Regions from separate parts of the Homo sapiens genome. Here region 2 is linked to region 1. Evidence: promoter capture Hi-C in 16 types of primary human blood cells and fetal thymus (Javierre and others, 2016). All regions are on one chromosome and are shown on one strand. The core of a region is centred on a gene start or on the middle of the fragment in contact, and the rest is flanking DNA. Distances in the headings are between cores, read along the strand shown. Region 1 holds the start of RNASEH2B (ribonuclease H2 subunit B). Region 2 overlaps DLEU1 (deleted in lymphocytic leukemia 1).

The links. Contacts are between HindIII fragments. The CHiCAGO score rates a contact against its expected background, and 5 or more counts as called.
Region 2: a contact is called between a fragment that was not itself captured here and the fragment with the promoter of RNASEH2B in region 1, in 1 of 17 cell types (monocytes). The highest score is 5.3, in monocytes.

Annotation. Positions count from the first base shown.
Region 1 is chr13:50,907,654-50,911,101 of GRCh38, reverse strand. RNASEH2B (ribonuclease H2 subunit B) reads right to left here and starts at 1,311. Exons shown (of 11, transcript NM_024570.4): 1 at 962-1,311. The coding sequence starts at 1,025. It overlaps RNASEH2B-AS1 (RNASEH2B antisense RNA 1), which reads left to right and starts at 390. Exons shown (of 3, transcript NR_046552.1): 1 at 390-619. RefSeq lists silencers at 557-606, 817-1,056, 1,067-1,496. The HindIII fragment of the contact is 8,311 bases long and covers 1-3,448 here.
Region 2 is chr13:50,278,554-50,282,214 of GRCh38, reverse strand. The region is part of intron 2 of DLEU1 (deleted in lymphocytic leukemia 1); the gene reads right to left. Among named protein-coding and RNA genes, the nearest start is that of DLEU2, 150 kb to the right of the region's middle. The HindIII fragment of the contact is 635 bases long and covers 1,208-1,842 here.

The DNA.
Region 1 (3,448 bases), core at 62-2,561:
TATGAAAAGTTCAGTGAGTTGCATACTTAAAATCCGTACACTTTATGTATGTTTTATTTTTAGAGGCAAAAAATATTATTGACAGCCTGTCATGTAAACATTTTCAATAACCATCATAAAACTCTAAATTCCTGGGAAAGAATATTGTTATCAGAGTATATTTACTGCCACAAACACTGCATTTGCTGAGCTAAAGTCAAAACTTAATACAGGGAACAGGAGATGTTCCTTTTTTCCAATGTTACATATATAAAAAGACCAAACCTTTCTGGCTTGCACTCCCTAGGCCAAATTCCTTTAACTGTGTCATTTAATCGGTCCTTCCTTGTGTGGCACTGGCTGTCCACTGTCCCAAGCCCTCGCATGTCCTGGATGGCCGGTCATCATCCACACGGGGGCTGAAAGGCCCGGCTCCAGCACTCCTGTGGTCATCATCCTGCTGAATCGCTTTGAACTACCCTTGGCCTAACCGCGACTCCCATCCCGCTTCCCTCCTGCCTCGCCACTGCAGGCCTGTCCCTTTGCTTTCTTAAAACTGCGCACCGTCTGAGGCCACTTCGAGCCTACTGGATCCCTGGTTCCAACCCAGTAGGATCACAGAAGCAGGGCCAGCTGCCAGGTAGGGGACACCAAGGGCAGAAACCTCCGGGGCCCGCAGCGCACCGGTGACCGCGAACCCGCGTGGCTCCCCTCAGGCTGAGTCGGCTTCCACCCTCCCACCCGAGCCACCGGGGATCAGGGCCCGGGAAACACGCTCGGTCCTTTTCGGCGCTTCCGGGTTTGAAAACCGCGGCTTGCTATGACGTGTGACCAAAATGCGGGGCCAGCTGTCCCAGAGAGAATCCCATCCCGCGCCGGGCCGGGTAGTGGGAGCCACCGGGGTGGGGGGCGGCGCGCCCGGGGTCGCGGGCCGCTCCGCCAGTTCTTGGGCCGACCCCGCCGCCCGGGCGCGCGTGTTTACCTGAAACCAGGAACACGTGCTGCCGGGCGCCAACCCCGTCCCCGCAGTCCACGCCAGCGGCCATGCCGCCCGCCTCTTCCGGGGCGCCGCAGGCTCAGCGCCGCGGGCCTCAGTCTCCCAGCCCCGCCGAAAATGGCGGGAGAAGGGTCTGTTCCGGGTGGCGCGGCGCGCTGAGGGACCGGCAGCGCCCGGGAGGAGGCCCAGGGACCGAATTTCGTTTCGTTTCCGAGACCAGCCTGCTGCTCGTGTTACGTTTTTAAATTTAGCGCCAGGCGAGGGGCTCTGAATGCCGGCCGGTGGCCGCAGGCAACGGGAAGGGGCCGCGGCCTCTCCCTCGCGGCTCCGCTAGTGGTAGGTGCTCATCGCGCGCCGCAGGGCGCCGAGTGACGCGGAGCGGGGCGGGGTCGCCGGGGCCCCGCGCTCTGTGGCTGCACCCAGCGGCCCTCCATGGTCTAGCCAGCGGGCTAGGATTGGGTCTGCGGGGTGTGTGCCCGGACAACGGGTGACGCCCGCCACACCCCCGGGGCCGGGGGACTCACCTGGAGCTAGTCCGTGTTAAGGACAATAGCAGTCACATCGGAATCCGAATGCAACTCTTAGCCATGGTCCTCAATTATTTGTGAATATATATTGGTCATCAGTTGCATTCTGTGTTGCTATTGATGTGAGAATATGTGTGCATTGTGAGCTACAAGGGATGTCCTCAATTTGGACTCCGTCCTCATCACTAAAAGAGGTGCACAGTTTTGGGCTCAGAATATGAATTTGTTGTTTTGGAGAACGCTGTATACTGAGTTAAAAACTTAGACATTTATTTAAAAAGTGATGTTTAAAAAGTTAGAGCCATGAAATTTGGGGATTTAAACTTTTAAAAATAACATTTTAATTGAAAAGTGTTGTTTGGTACATGGTTTTTAAGAAGAAAGTACATATTCCTTTCATACTTTAGAGAAAAGCACGGGCCAGGCGCAGTGGCTCAGGCCTGTAATCCCAGCACTTTGGGAGGCCGAGGCGGGCGGATCGCCTGAGGTCAGGAGCTGGAGACCAGCCTGACCAACAAGGTGAAACTCCGTCTCTACTGAAAATACAAAAATTAGCTGGGTGTGGTGGTGCACATCTGTAATCCCAGCTACTACGGAGGCTGAGGCACAAGAATCACTTGAACCCAGGAGATGGAGGTTGCAGTGAACCGAGATCCCACCACTGCACTCTGGCCTGGGCTACAGAGCTGGACTCTGTCAAAAAAAACAAAAACAAAAAAATCCACAAAAACCTATTTTTTTTTTTTTTAAAGAAAAGCATGATGTATCTCTTTTATCCCAGATCCCAGGGGTAACTGTTAACATTTCTTCTCTATTCTTGCAGAATTTTTCCATGCAAAAACAAGTTAATGTCTTATTTTTGCACAATTGAAAGAATAATATACATAACTCATGCACTTTGCTTTTCATGTTTAATCTTGAAGATAGTTAAATTTAGCAGCACTAAATTTATCTCGGCCCTCTGAAAAGGTTTTTAACTTCAAACCTGTTTCCCATGGGGTGAGACCAATACAGCTGCAGTTGATTGCAGGACACAGCTGGTGGAGAAGAGGCCTTTCTGGCTGAGGAAAGGCGCCTCTTGCCAGTTTTGGGGCAAGGAGCAGCAGATTGGTACTGCTCTGATCTTCCCTCTCCCCCAAAACGACTGTAGAAGATGCTGTGGTGTATAGCACAAATCCCCAGGCACACCATCGTCTTACTAACAGCTACAGGAGCACCCCATTATTCCTGTAGGATGGGATCCAAAACCCCCAGTGAAGGCCTAAAACCGCAAATAGTACCAAACCCTAATATACTGTTTTTTCCTTTGCATGTATATCTGTGATAAAGTTTAATTTGAAAATTAGGCCCAGTAAGAGATGAACAACAATAATAATAAAATAGAACAATTCTCACAGTATGCCAGCATCACTACTCTTGCAGCTACTAAGTGACTCATAAGGAGGGGACCTTCTGCAGTGTGGATCCGCTGGACAAAGGTAGAATTCAGGTCCTTTGCAGGACGAAGCTGGATGGTGCAAGATTTCTTCACACCACTCAGAACACTGTACAATTTAAAACTTACGAATTGTTTCTGGAATTTTTCGTGTAATATTTTTGGACCAAGTTCGACTGGGGGTAACTGACACCTTGGAAAGCGAAACTTCGAATAGGGGGAGCTACTGTACATGAGAAATGTTACCCATGATTCCCTTGCTCAGACATACATACCTGTTTCATTTTTCTCTGATCCTTTCTAGCCCTTGGCTGTATTAATGTATATTTTTGTGGTTGTTGTCACAATTTAGACTGTTTTGTCTGCTTTTCTCACTTAACATTGTCATAAGCATGTGCCCCTTCATATCGAGAAGTATCATTGTTAATGAAGGCATGATATTTAACACAGCTGGTGTACTAGGGTTAGTTATCCATTCCCTAGTGTGCAGTATTTAGGTTATTTCAAACT
Region 2 (3,661 bases), core at 276-2,775, 630 kb after region 1:
CAAGGCCCCTCTTTGTCTAAAGGCTGACTCCCTACCAGCTTCCCATAGAGTGAAGCCTGACAATCAACATATTCCACCCTCAAACACAGAGCTCAAGTCAGCCTTCCTTTTATAGCAGATACCCAGAAGGAAGACCATCTAAGCAGAGCAAAATGGCAATGCCTACATACATCATCATAACAATTTTGCACAGAGAATATACAGAGTGTTTACCCTCTATGCAATTTTTATGAGAAAATTACTTGAGGATTTACTCCAGAAAAATGACAGCTAAACACAAAGAGTGAAATTCAAAAAAAAATAAAAAAAAAAGAATGAAACTCAACCAAGTGTCCAATAAAAAGAAATTCTAGGATGATATCTGTGTGTGAGGCTGAGAAAGCAATTGGTCCAACTGGAACAGGATGTCAGCACATTCCATGTATGGTATGTCCAAGAAAAAACTTACAGCTTCCAAGCAATGTACAAATGTACAGAATGACAATGATGCTTGTTATTAGTGACATGGTAAAAAGAAAAAAAAGAAAAAAAGAAAAAAAAAAGAGAGAGAGAAAGAAGTGTCCTATCTCAATAACGAATTCACATTTAGAACCTCCAAGAAAAACACTATCTTAAAAAAATCATGGCCCAAATACGAAACAAACTAAAATACTAAAATACTGCGTGATTTTGAATAGTTTATAAATTATAAGAAAATAAAAAGCATTTATCCTTTTGACCTGTATAGTGAGCATAGTGTCTCTTGAGGGTCAAGAGCTTGTGATGCTAGACATAAAGAGAAGAAAACATAACCTTAGCTTGTGGAAATACAATCTTAGAAAATATAATTTTTGGCTGTGAAATGGCAACATGTTATTCTCACGCATAATAATAAAATAGCTTTTAGCTTTAGAATCCATCTACTATACAAGATTTTAAATTGTTATAGAACAAAATGTCAATGTTAACAACTTTGATAATTAAAGAAATGAAAGTTCATAGTCAGAAGATGGGAGGCGGGATAATATGGAAGAGTTAGAAGGAAGGATAAGAATATGGATGGTCTCATCTAACATGGTGAGGAGTCAAGAGACCATCTCTAAAGTTGATTGCACAAAATTTGAGGTTTACAGGTATATTTTTTAAAGAAACACTGAAAAATTAAAATAATGATTACCAAAATTTGGAAGAGAGGGGACAGACGGGTGTTGTGTAAGTAGCTTAAGCTTCTACTCATGGCAGGGAGTCAATAAAAAGTGTTTTAAATTGATCAATCAACACAAAGAAGGAAACAATGGACAGTGGGGTCTGTTAAGGGTGGAGGGTGGGAGGAGTAAGAGGGGCAAAAGAGATCACTGTTAGGTACTGAGCATAATACCTGAGTGATGAAATGATCTGTACAACCAACCCCCGTGACATGAGTTTACCTATGTAACAAACGTTCACATGTACCCTCGAACCTAAATAAAAGTTAAGAAAAAAAGGAAAGAAATTGATGACTCAAGAAACAAATGTCACTATTGGTGAAAGAATACAAAGTTACAGTTGTGTAGGATGAGTAAGTCTAGACATGTCATGTACAGAATGGTGACAATATTGTATTGCGTACTGGGAATTAGCTAATATAGTAGATTTCAATTGCTCTCACCACAAGACAAAAAAGGAACAATGTGAGGTGGTGGATAATCAATTATTTTGACTACAGTAATCACTTTACTATGTATATCAAAACATCATGTTGTACACTTTAAATATATACAATTTTTATGAAAAAAAAGGGAAGAAAAGTAGAAAGAAAAAAATGAGATCCAGTCTGGGAGATAAAGCTGGAAGACACAAGGTATTATAAGCCTTCCAGAAGCTTTACAATGTGTTTAAGTGTTAGTGCTATATAAACCTAGGAGTATGATTTGTAACCATTTATCAATGAGAAATAAAAGTATATATCACAATTGTAAAAAAGAAAGAAGTCATTGAAGAAAGAAATCGCTTACATTATCACACAATCAAGAAACCAGAGGTCATACCATAAATTTCAAACAGATGGAATATAATACAAGGACTTAGTTACAAGGGTGTTTGAAAGGTCAGAAATCGGGAGAGTGAACGTTGCTTTAAATATGTAGGAATTGCAAATGAGTGACCTGCTGGTCAGGATTTGAAAGAAGGAAGAATAGAATGGTGAAGTCAGAGGAGGAGCACTGGGGTAAAATGGTAAGTTCAGTTGGGGGTGTAATTAAATAATCACAAGAGGCAATGAATAATTGTCAATTAAGTGCTAAAAACTAGAGCCAGCGCTTGCCAAGCCCTTGAGCCTTTGGACACATACGTCATTCTGTTTTCTGACATTGTCTTCTCGAAATGAACGGAAAGAGGGAAAAGGAACTGGGTTCTGAAATGGAGACAGTGAGAGTGGGAGGTTAGCTTGAAGCAGTGTAGCAAGCACTGAATCAGTGCACATGGAGAAATTGATCCCATCTGATCCCAGTGGCACTAACATCCCTTTTGGCCCCGGGGCATGTACTTGGTGATGCAGGTGTTTCTGTGGTTCACGGTTTTATTGCCTTTCCTTGGTTCTGTCCCACCTTCTTCAGCAAATTGGAGGGGTAGGTTCTGAAGCTTCCACTTTCGCTGAAACTACAAATCACTCCTACTAAAGTGCTCCACTCCCACCCCCTACAGGGCACACAACAAAGCCTGGTGCCTTGACAGCAAAGTGAAGGAGAGGTGGAACTTCATGGAAATGCCCTGGAGTGAAACCTGTTGGAGACTTCATCCACTGAGTTCAGGATGTTTGTTTGACTTGAGATGTCCCACCATTCCTCTTTGAACATCATTTAAATGGATGTCATAGTTCACAAAAACAGTGAACATGCTTGAGCTACAGCTAATACTTTAAAGCCCTACCAAAACTACATTTACCCAGAATATCATTTAGGTCTCAACTCAGAAGTCAACTCCTCAGAGAGACCTGTTCAGACCACCAAGCTAAAACCACCTCCAGTCACCCTCTACCACATCACCCTATTTAACCTTCTCTTTAGCGTTTGTCTATGCATGCAATTTTCTCACTCATCTATATGCTTGCTAGTTTATTACTTCTGTTTTGCTGGCTTATGGTCTGTCTCTCCTCACCAGAATGTAGGTTATACAAGGTCAGGGATGCTATTATATTCTCTGCTCTATCCCCAGACTCTAGAACAGTGTTCAGCATTTAGTAGGTCCAAAGTAAATATTTGTTGACTCTCAAATGTTTGCTGCATCTTTTCATGACTTATGTTCTGGTTGGAGTTTTTAAAAATTAGAGAACAGGCTGGGCACGGTGGCTCATGCCTCTAATCCCAGCACTCTGGGAGGCTGAGGTGGGCGGATCACCTGAGGTCAGGAGTTTGAGACCAGCCTGGCCAACATGGTGAAACCTCATCTCTACTAAAAATACTAAAATTAGCCAAGTGTGGTGGCGCATGCCTGTGGTCCCAGCTACTCGGGAGGTTGAGGCAGAAGAATCGCTCGAACTTCAGAGGCGGAAGTCGCAGTGAGCCAAGATCACACCACTGCACTCCAGCCTGGGTGACAGAGCAACAAGACTCCATCTCAAAAAAAAAAAAAAAAGGAAAAAGAAAAAAGAAAAAGTAGGTATCATATGGACATTAAAATTAAATAAAATCAGAATTGGAGACAA